Regions from separate parts of the Homo sapiens genome. Here region 2 is linked to region 1. Evidence: promoter capture Hi-C in human tissues and cell types (Jung and others, 2019). All regions are on one chromosome and are shown on one strand. Each heading gives the region's core, a stretch centred on a gene start or on the middle of the fragment in contact. The rest is flanking DNA. Distances are from core to core; before and after follow the strand shown.

Region 1 (4,985 bases), core at 1,448-3,947:
CTGGGTGATGCTTGCTCTGGGGCATCCCAGCTTCCATTGCCAGACTACCTTTGGTGAATCTTTTTTTTTTTTTTTTTTAGACAGAGTCTCGTTCTGTCGCTCAGGCTGGAGTGCAATGGCACGACCTCAGCTCACTGCAACCTCCACCTCTTGAGTTAAAGCACTTCTCCTTCAGCCTCCTGAGTAGCTTAGATTACAGGTGTGCACCACCACGCCTGGCTAATTTTTGTATTTTTGGTGGAGACGGGGTTTCACCGTTTGGCCAGGCTGGTCTCGAACTCCCGACCTCAGGTGATCCGCCCACGACCTCCCAAAGTGCTGGGGTTACAGGCGTGGTGAGCTTTTATTGAGCACCTACTGTGTACAATGCACCACAGTGGGTGCTGGAGTGGGAGTGTACCATAATGAACCAGACCCTCAAGGAGCCCAAGAGGGAGACCTGTGACATATCACAATTGCTGGAAGGATAGAAGACGACAGTGGGGTGTGGGATTTTAGGGGGCTGGGGATTTGCTTCCCAGCAACAACAACAACAACAAAAAACACATCAGAAAGGACATTGCCAAAGAGAAGGCATTTGAAGTAGGCCTTGTGGGAGGCAGAGGCTGAATACAGGGTGTTGCAAGAAAGGCATTCCAGGAAGAGGGAACAGCAAAAGAAAAAGCTGGAAAGAGAATGGAGAGGAGGCAAGGGACCTGGGATAAGGGAGAAAGGAAGGGGAAATTAGCTCAGGAGGGACCCAAAAGGGCCTTGAGTCTAGGCGAAGGCATCTACAGTTTTTAACTGAGGGTAACAAGGAGCCCAGGGAGGCTTTGGAGCAGAGGAGGGACTTACTCAGAAGCCAGCTTGAAGAAGATGGGCCAAGGCTGGGTGCGATGGCTCACTCCTGTAATCCCAGCACTTTGGGAGGCTAAGGTGGGCAGATCTCTTGAGGTCGAGAGTTCAAGACCAGCCTGGCCAACAAGGTGAAACCCTGTCTCTACTAAAAATACAAAAATTAACCATGTGTGGTGGCGTGCGCCTGTAATCCCAGATACTCGGGAGGCTGAGACAGGAGAATTGCTTGAACCTGGGAGGAGGAGGTTGCAGTGAGCCACTGCCCTCCAGCCTGGGCCACAGAGCAAGAAGACTCTGTCTCAAAAAATAAATACATAAAAATAAGGAAGAAGAAGAAGAAGATGGGCCAGAGGTGCTGGGAGCAGGGACCCAGTGGGAGGAGACAAGAGTAGGGGAGAGTTCCTGATTTTACCCCTTATGGCTCAAGCTCCAGCCTGCAGTGTGTGGGGTACTGGGGAGGCCCCACCCTGTAGAAGAGGCAGATCTGCTCATTGCCCTCTTCCAGGGCTAAGGGGGACTCTCCTGGGACTTAGTAAGGCCACCTATGTGCATGCCTCTGGCAGGAGCCAGGCATGTGGGATACAATGTCCTGAGTAAGCACCAGGTCCAGATAGTCCTGATTGTCACTTACTACATGGCTGTATGGCCCCAGGCATGCTGCTTCCCTCTTCCAGGCTCTGTCAGGTAGGGAAGAACAGTCTGGGGCTCAAGGAGCACATGAAGCCTTTGGACTAGAACTTGACATGGAGCCCAGCAAACGGTTTCTGATTAGAGCTAAAGCTGGTGATGTTCTGCCTGTATCACCTCAGCCTCACTACTCCCCAGCAGCAGCACCTGTGTTTCTCTGCCTAAGTACGCTCTCCAGCCTTCTGAATTGTGTGCACAGCAGGCCAGCAGTGCCAGCAGAATTGACAGCCCCTGGAGCAGCCCTCAACTGAAGACTGTCCCGAGATGCTGCATAAATACCCCAGCTCCCTCCCCACTCAGGCAAGGAAACGCTGATGGGCAGGTTCCCTGCTGTCTCCCAGAAGTCCCCACTGGGATTGAGCTCTTCTGTACTTCCTTGATAACCAGGCCTATACAGCTGCCTTCCGTTCTCTGTCTCATTTCCACACTTCCCTACTTGTGTTTCTCAGGACACCTCCCTAATAAACTTGCCCTGAACTCCTTGTTTCAGGGCAACCCAGACTACTACAAATAACTACTGTGTTCCAGGCCCCGTGCACACCGCGTGATCTCATGTGTCCTCACCTTGGGCTCTGGCTTTCTGCTTGTCCAGTGGGTGGTGGGGGCAGATGTAGCCAGGAGTCCCTCCTCACCTCTCATCCTGGCTCCCAGGCCAAGTGTGGCCCAGCTCAGGATTGCAAATCCACCTGTTTGGGTCTGGGCCTGGGAAGTTTCATCCTCAACCCTGAAGCCATGTGCCTTAACATCTGGGATGAATCATGGGCAGTTGCTCTGGACATGTCAGGTGGTAGATGAAGCCTGGGATGAGAGTGAAGGCATGATGACAGTGACTTCCGGGCCTCTGTTGGGGGTGAGAGATGACTTCTCCTGGCTCAAAGAGGCATCCGATGGGACCACAGGAGTAGAGGGTAGGGGACTGAGAGGCAGGGTGAACAGCCGCCTCCGTGTGTGTGTGAAATCAGGTGGTGTCAATTTCAACATGTCATCAACGCTCCGAGGAAACATCGCTGTCCTAATTTTGCAAGTGAGGATGTGAACCCAGGGCAGGCTGAATCCAGGGCCCCATGCCTGAGGCACCTAGTAAGGAATGAGCCCCACCTGTTGCCCTGAGGCTCACAGGAAGTAGTGGGATTTCTGGGTGGTGATAAATGTGGGCATGGCTACCAGCTGGCAAAAGGCAGGCCACCTGGAGGGAGCCACAGAGTGGAGCCTGGACCCATTCATGGGCAGCATGAGTGGACAAGTGGGTGACCTGAGCCCATCGCAGGAGAAGTCGCTGGCCCAGGTGAGTGAAGGGAGAGACTCCTACACCAGCCTCAGTTTCTCCTTCTGCCACGGGGAAGGGCAGGACTCAAGGTCCCTGAGTTTCTTCTGAACTCTCCAGCTCTGGGTCTCTTCCCAACCCTGAGGGGCTTGGTAGCCAGAGGCTACACCAGCACTAACCAATAGAAATACCACGCCACCACAAACGCAAGCCACATAGGTCATTTGAAATTTTCTTTCTTCCTTTTTTTTTTTTTTTTTTTTTTTGAGACGGAGTTTCGCTCTTGTTGCCCAGGTTGGAGTACAACGGCACAATCTTGGCTCACTGCAACTTCTGCCTTCTGGGTTCAAGCAATTCTCCTGCCCTAGCCTCCGGAGTAGCTGGGATTACAGGCACCTGCTACCACGCCTGGCTAATTTTTGTATGTTAGTAGAGATGGGGTTTTAACCACGTTGGTCAGGCTGGTCTGGAATTCCTGATCTCAGGTGATCCACCCACCTTGGCCTCCCAGAGTGCTGGGATTACAGGCATGAGCCACCATGCCCGGCCTTTTTGAAATTTTCTAGTAGCTCCATTAAAGAACTAAAAAGAGGCTGGGCGCTGTGGCTCATGCCTGTAATCCCAACACTTTGGGAGGCTGAGGTGGATGGATCATTTGAGGTCAGGAGTTTGAGACCAGCCTGGGCAACAGGGTGAAACCCTGTGGCAGGAGAATCGTTTGAACCCAGGAGGTGGAGGTTGCAGTGGGCCAAGATTCTGCCACTGCACTCCAGCCTGGGAGACAGAGCAAGACTATGTCTCAAAAACAAAACAAAAACAAAAACAAAACAAAACAAAACAAAAAAAACCTAAAAAGAAACAATTGAAGTAAAGTTTAATGATGTATTAACTTCAATATATAATCTAATCAATATAAAAACAACTGGTCTGGTGCAGTAGCTCGGGCCTATAATCCCCGCACTTTGAGGCGGGAGGATCACTGGAGCCCAGGAGTTCTGGCAACATAGCAAGAACACATCTTTACAAAAAATTAAAAAATTAGCAACATAGGGAGACCCCATCTCTAAAAACAACAACAACAACAACAAATAGCTGGGTGTGGTGGCCCATGCCTGTAGTCCCAGCTACTCGGGAGGCTGAGGTGGGAGGATGGATTGAGCCTAGGAGGTCGAGACTGCGGTGAGCCAACATCGTGCCACTGCACTCCAGCCTGGGCAACAGAGCTAGACCCTGTTTCAAAAAAAAAAAAAATGAGTGTTTTGAGGGGATACTGAGTCTTTGGAATCCTGTGTATTTTACACTCACAGCAGACCTCAGTTCAAACTAGCCACATTTTAAGAATTTGTGGCTACCATATTGGACAGGGCTGGTGAAGGCTGCTGGCCTGCTGGGGAGGCTGCATTGGCAGGTCACGTCCTCAGCTATGAGCTGGAGGAGGCAGGAACAGGGTGCATTTTCGTCTCTAGCCTGGGAGGAGTCCCTTGAAGGTCCTTAGGGTCTTTCCTTCGTGGTCGCACACGGCAAGCTTGGGGTCCAGGAAGACTCACACGGTTCCATGAGCATGGAGGCAACGACGGGTCCTTGGAGGTCTCGATTCCTGCCATCATAGGGTTTTGCATGGGGTAGGTGGTGTATGCGGGGTGGGAGGTGCCGGGATGGGGTTCCCGGGGCAAAGAAGGGTGGCGACCGGGCGCTGGAGTGGACTTTCTTTTTTTCACGTTGTTGTTGTTTTAAGAAAAAAACAAAACAAAACACCACAGATCAAGTTTTCTAACACCTCAGTTTCAAGATTGCACGTTTCACATTTCTCAGTAATTTACAGGCACCCACAGCGAGATGTTGCTTAGTGCTAGCTGGAGGGGCAAGCTCAGGTCTAGAAGGGAGAGATGCGTCCGGGTGGAGCAACACAGTTGGGCCCCAGGGAGTCTTGGAGGGACCTGAGGAAGCGGAGGGTTTTGTCTCCAGTCCTTTGGGAGGGATCCTCTCCTCCTCCAGGACTCATGGCTCTTTAGCCTAGGGATGGGGGAGGCCAGGACTGTTGGCAGCAACCTCACCAGGTCTGGATATGGGTTCCAGAGTTTTTTTCCAGCTTTTCCATGGAAGTGGTAGTTTGATCTAAAGGGGAAATCTTCCCCACTCAAGCCCCAGTTGAGGGGTGGTGGTGGTGGTGGTGGAGGTCAGGGGAGGTGGGATTTTC
Region 2 (4,985 bases), core at 1,204-3,703, 980 kb after region 1:
CTCCATTGGGAGACTTCCTTTTCAGGCCTGGCTGCAAGCTGCACCAAGGCTGTGGAGCGGGAAGATTGGTAGTCTCAAAATAAGCACCCCTGCCTCCTGCTGGGACCTTGGGTATGTGTTTAGGATGGGAGTGCAGTTCTGGTCCAGTAGGAGCTGGCAGCAGACCCTCCACTGCCCTTAACCACAGTGCTCATGGGCAAAGCACATAATCATATTCATTGATCATTCATTCATTCATTCTCAGTATCCTATGGAGATGGGCAGAGCAGGTGTTGGCTGGATGAGTGAATGCATCTTGCTTTGCAGTGCCTTTTACTCCCTCTATCTGCCAAACCAGTCCTGGGGACTGACCAGCTCATCTCCTCCTCTGTAGAGAGTCTGCCCAGGTTGCCAGAAGCAGAGTTAAGGCTAGTTCACCTGGGCTCTTCCAGAGACCCCTCCTATAATTGTGTCCCAAGGCCCATTTCTCCTAGTGGACTATGAGCTCCTCAAGGACAAAGCTTATTTGTATTTGGCTTTCCATGTGTGGGGTCAGGGTGGGGACATGGGCCAAGTGCACTGTGAGAGTGCTGGGGAGGACGGTGAGAGCAGTCTTCTCGTTAGAGGGGACAGAACTTGTACAGAAAGCACAGAGTAGCAGATCCTGGTGTGTTCAGGGAAGAGCACACCTGGAGAGTGAGGTGTACAGGTGAGGGGGCAGGAGGGGAGGCTGACAAGTTAGGTTGGGTTGTCAAGGGCTTTGGGCATGATGCAAGGTGGATTTGGGGTTGATCCTCTTGGCGAGAGGCTGGAGTTATATGACCCAAGTAGAGGACCTCTTGGAAGGGGGATGAAGTGGAGGCAGGGAGGCTAGAGAGAGAAGTGGGAGGTGGGGCTGCCTCTCCTGGCGTCCTGAGGCTCTGCAAAGCTTCAAGAAGCCAACTGGGCAGCTGGAATATCTGTAGAAAGGAGCTGGCTCCAATAGCATTTCACAGTCTGGAGCTGCCACAGGACTCCGTGGCCCTGTTCCCAGAAATGTGGGTCACTGGTCTAGGGGAGCAGGACATCCAAGTGGATGGAATTGCTGGGGCTCCCCCAACCTCCGCGCGTCCCCCTCAACTCCTCTGTCCTGCAGTTTCTATTCCAAGGACAATGAAGGCAGCTGGTTCCGCTCCCTCTTTGTTCACAAAGTGGATCCCCGGAAGGATGCCCACTCCACCCTGCTGTCCAAGAAGGAAACCAGCAACCTCTATAAGATCCAGTGTGAGTGGCTGCTGAGCTGACCAATTTCTGCCCTTTCAGGGGCTCTGGGGGCCTGTGAGGCTCCAGGAAGGAGATGGGAGGGTCTGGAATGTCCTCAGCTGTCCTGGGACCCCTGGCCTTGATGGGCTCCCCTCACCCCAAGTTCTTCCCTGTGTACACACCCTACCTCACTTCTTGTTCTCTGTCCTCTGTTGCAGTTCACAATGTAAAGCCTGAATACCTGGATGCCTACAACAGCCTCACGTGAGCACCCTGCATCCATACATCCCATCCCCTGCTTGGGTGGGGAACACACTTTCAGCAAATTTGCGGAACATCCTCCACCCTGTTCTTTTCTGTAGAAATCCAGGAGATGTAGATTTCTTTTATTTCTGCCTTTTTCTTTCTTTCTTTCTTTCTCTCTTTCTTTTTTTTTGAGATGGAGTTTTGCTCTCGTTGCCCAGGCTGGAGTGCAATGGCGCGATCTCGGCTCACTGCAACCTCTGCCTCCCAGGTACAAGCGATTCTCCTGTTCCAGCCTCCCAAGTAGCTCGGATTACAGGCATGCGCCGCTAAGCATGGCTAATTTTTTTGTATTTAGTAGAGACAGGGTTTCACCATGTTAGTCCGGCTGGTCGCAAACTCCTGACCTCAGGTGATCCACCTGCCTCGGCCTCCGAGTGCTGGGATTACAGGCATGTGCCACTGCGTTTGGCCCCATTTTCTTTCTTTCTTTTTTTTTTTTTTAAGAGATGGTCTCCAGGAGGCGGAGGTTCCAGTGAGCCGAGATTGCGCCATTGCACTCCAGCCTGGGCAACAAGAGCAAAACTCTGTCTCACACACAAAAAAGAGAGATGGGATCTCACTTTGCTTCCCAGGCTGGTCTCAAACTACTGGGCTCAAGCAATCCTCCTGCCTCAGCCTCCCAGTGTTGGGATTACAGGTGTGAGCCACTGTGCCCAGCCAGGATGTAAATTTCAGTGTCGGAAGTCCTGAGGGCCTCTTGCCTAGCTTCTGCATTTTAGAGATGGAGAGTCTGAGGCCCAGCCCCAGGGTCTGTTTGAACTGAGTTTGAACCCTTATCTCAGAGGCCCTGGTGGCTATGTGAACCCTGCCCCTCTCTGCACCTCCCCCACAGGGAGGCTGTGCTGCCCAAGCTTCACCTGGATGAGGACTACCCATGCTCACTCGTGGGCAACTGGAACACGTGGTATGGGGAGCAGGACCAGGCAGGTAAGGCGCTCACCTCCCTAGTGCCATTGCCACTGCCCAGCCCTGGCCTCCAGCACCTTTCACACCTGGCTGTTCTCCACTCCCTCTCCACAACAGCACCTGGTGGGGCTCTTACTAAAACCTCATCACCTCACTCCCCTGCTCAAATACCTGTCCTGGCTCCCCTGTGCCCTCAAGGTGACCCGTGAAGCCTGTGACTCCTTCCCGGCCCTGCCCCCAGCCTCATGGCACCAAATCCTCCATGCCTCGCTGTGCTGTCCCACCCAGGACTCAGTTCCTCAGATTGACAGTTTCACTCTTTAGTTCCAGACTACTGCTCATTCTCTTTCTTCTGCCTTAAGCATTATTTCTTGTTTGCCTGCTTTACCTGGATCACTGTCTTTTATTCTTTTTTTTTCCGAGACTGAGTTTCACTCTTGTTGCCCCAGGCTGGAGTGCAGTAGTGCAATCTCGGCTCACTGCAACCTCCGCCTCCCCAGTTTAAGCAATTCTCTTGTCTCAGCCTCCTGAGTAGCTGGGATTACAGGCATGTGCCACCACGCCCAGCTAATTTTGTATTTTTAGTAGAGACGGGATTTCACCATGTTGGTCAGGCTGGTCTTGAACTCCTGATCTCAGGTGATCCACCTGCCTCAGCCTCCCAAAGTGCTGGGATTACAGGTGTGAGCCACCGCACCCGGCCTTTTTTTTTTTTTTCTTTTTTCTTTTTTGAGACAGGGTCTCGCTCTGTCACCCAGGCTGGCAGATAGTGGCACAGTCTTGGCTGACTGCAACCTCCACCTCCTGAGTTGAAGATATTCTCCTGCCTCAGCTTCCCGAGTAGCTGGGATTACTGGCCTGTGCCACCAGGCCTGGCTAATTTTGTATCTTTAGTAGAGATGGGGTTTCACATGTTGGTCAGGCTGGTCTCGAACTTCTGACCTCAGGTGATCCACCTGCCTCGGCCTCCCAAAGTGCTGGGATTACAGGAGTGAGCCACCACTCCCGGCCTTTTTTTTTTTTTTTTTTTTTTTTGAGACAGGGTCTTGCTCTGTCACACAGGCTGGAGTGCAGTGGCATAATCTTGGCTCACTCGAGCCTCAATTTCCCAGGCTCAAGCAGTACTCCCACCTCAGCTTCCTGAGTAGCTGGGACTATAGGTGCGCTCCACCATGCTCGGCTAATTTTTGTGTTTTTTGGTAGAGACGGGGTTTCTCCATGTTGCCCAGGCTGGTCTTGAATTCCTGAACTCAAATGATCCTACCTCCTCGGCCTCCCAAAGTGCTAGGATTGTAGACATGAGCCACCGTGCCTGGCCTTTCAGTTTTATTCATTTTTAAATTTTCATTTATTTATTTATTTTTGAAACCAGGTCTTGTTACCCAGTGGGGAGTGCAGTGGTGTGATCACAGCTCACACAGCCTTAACCTCCTGAGCTTAAGCAATCCTCCTACCTCAGCCTCCTGAGTAGCTGGGACCACAGGTGCATGCCACAATGCCCAACTAATTTATTTTAAATTTTTTGTAGAGACGGGATCTCCCTATGTTACCCAGGGTGGTCTCAAACTCCCGGGCTCAAGCGATCCTTCCACTTTGGCCTCCCAAAGTGCTGGGAGTACAGGCATGAGCCACAGTGCCTGGACTATTCACTTTTCTATTTTGGCATAGATGTCACCTCCTCCTGGAAGGCTGCCGAGATTTCCTCCACGCGGGCTGGGTCAGGCACCTTCCTTAGCTCTCCAGGCCTCAGTAATTACCTCCTCACGCCCTGATCATGTACCCCTATAGCTGCCTGTTTAGTTGTCTGTCTCCATATATGGGTGAATCCCCAATATGCAGCACATATTTGTGGAATAAATAGGAGTTCTTCTTGTCTGAGCTGGTGTCTTACAGTCCCAGGGGCACCCCTAGCATGCCCCATCCCAGCCTAATAGACACATCAAAGTTGGCACCAGCTATAAGAACCCACACATGAATTTGGCTGACTCACAGCATCTCAGCCACTCAAAGGGACCTCAAATTCAGACCCACACTGTCCAAAATGATAGCCACTAACCACATGTAGTTATTTATTTATTTATTTTTTTGAGATGGAGCCTCGCTCTGTACTGTCACCCAGGCTGGGGTACAGTGGTGCAATCTTGGCTCACTGCAACCTCTGCCTCCTGGGTTCAAGTGATTCTCCTGCCTCAGCCTCCTGAGTAGCTGAGGTTACAGGCGTGTGCCACCACACTTGGCTAATTTTTGTATTTTTAGTAGAAACAGGGTTTCACCATGTTGGTCAGGCTGGTCTTGAACTCCTGACCTCATGATCCTCCCGCCTGAGCCTCCCAAAGTGTTGGGATTACAGGCATCAGCCACTGCGCCTGGCCTATTTATTTATTTTTTTGAGACAGCGTCTCACTCTGGTTTCCCAGGCTGGACTGCAGTGGTGCAATCACAGCTCACTGCACCCTTGACCTCCCGGGCTCAGATGATTCTCTCACCTCAGCCTCCCAAGTAGCTGGAACTACAGGTGTGCACCACCACAGCCAGCTAATTTTTTATATTTT

Evidence for each region. Contacts are between HindIII fragments. The study calls those that stand out against the background at their distance.
Region 2: a contact is called between a fragment that was not itself captured here and the fragment with the promoter of SEC14L6 in region 1, in 1 of the 25 tissues and cell types used here (dorsolateral prefrontal cortex).

The regions. Positions count from the first base shown.
Region 1 is chr22:30,544,453-30,549,437 of GRCh38, reverse strand. It overlaps SEC14L6 (SEC14 like lipid binding 6), which reads left to right and starts at 2,697. Exons shown (of 12, transcript NM_001193336.4): 1 at 2,697-2,809. The coding sequence starts at 2,756. It also overlaps the pseudogene SIRPAP1. The HindIII fragment of the contact is 18,463 bases long and covers 1-4,985 here.
Region 2 is chr22:29,566,662-29,571,646 of GRCh38, reverse strand. It overlaps NIPSNAP1 (nipsnap homolog 1), which reads left to right. Exons shown (of 10, transcript NM_003634.4): 2 at 1,115-1,242; 3 at 1,440-1,485; 4 at 2,360-2,454. Among named protein-coding and RNA genes, the nearest start is that of NIPSNAP1, 12 kb to the left of the region's middle. RefSeq lists a silencer at 413-707 and an enhancer at 2,173-2,467. The HindIII fragment of the contact is 3,498 bases long and covers 705-4,202 here.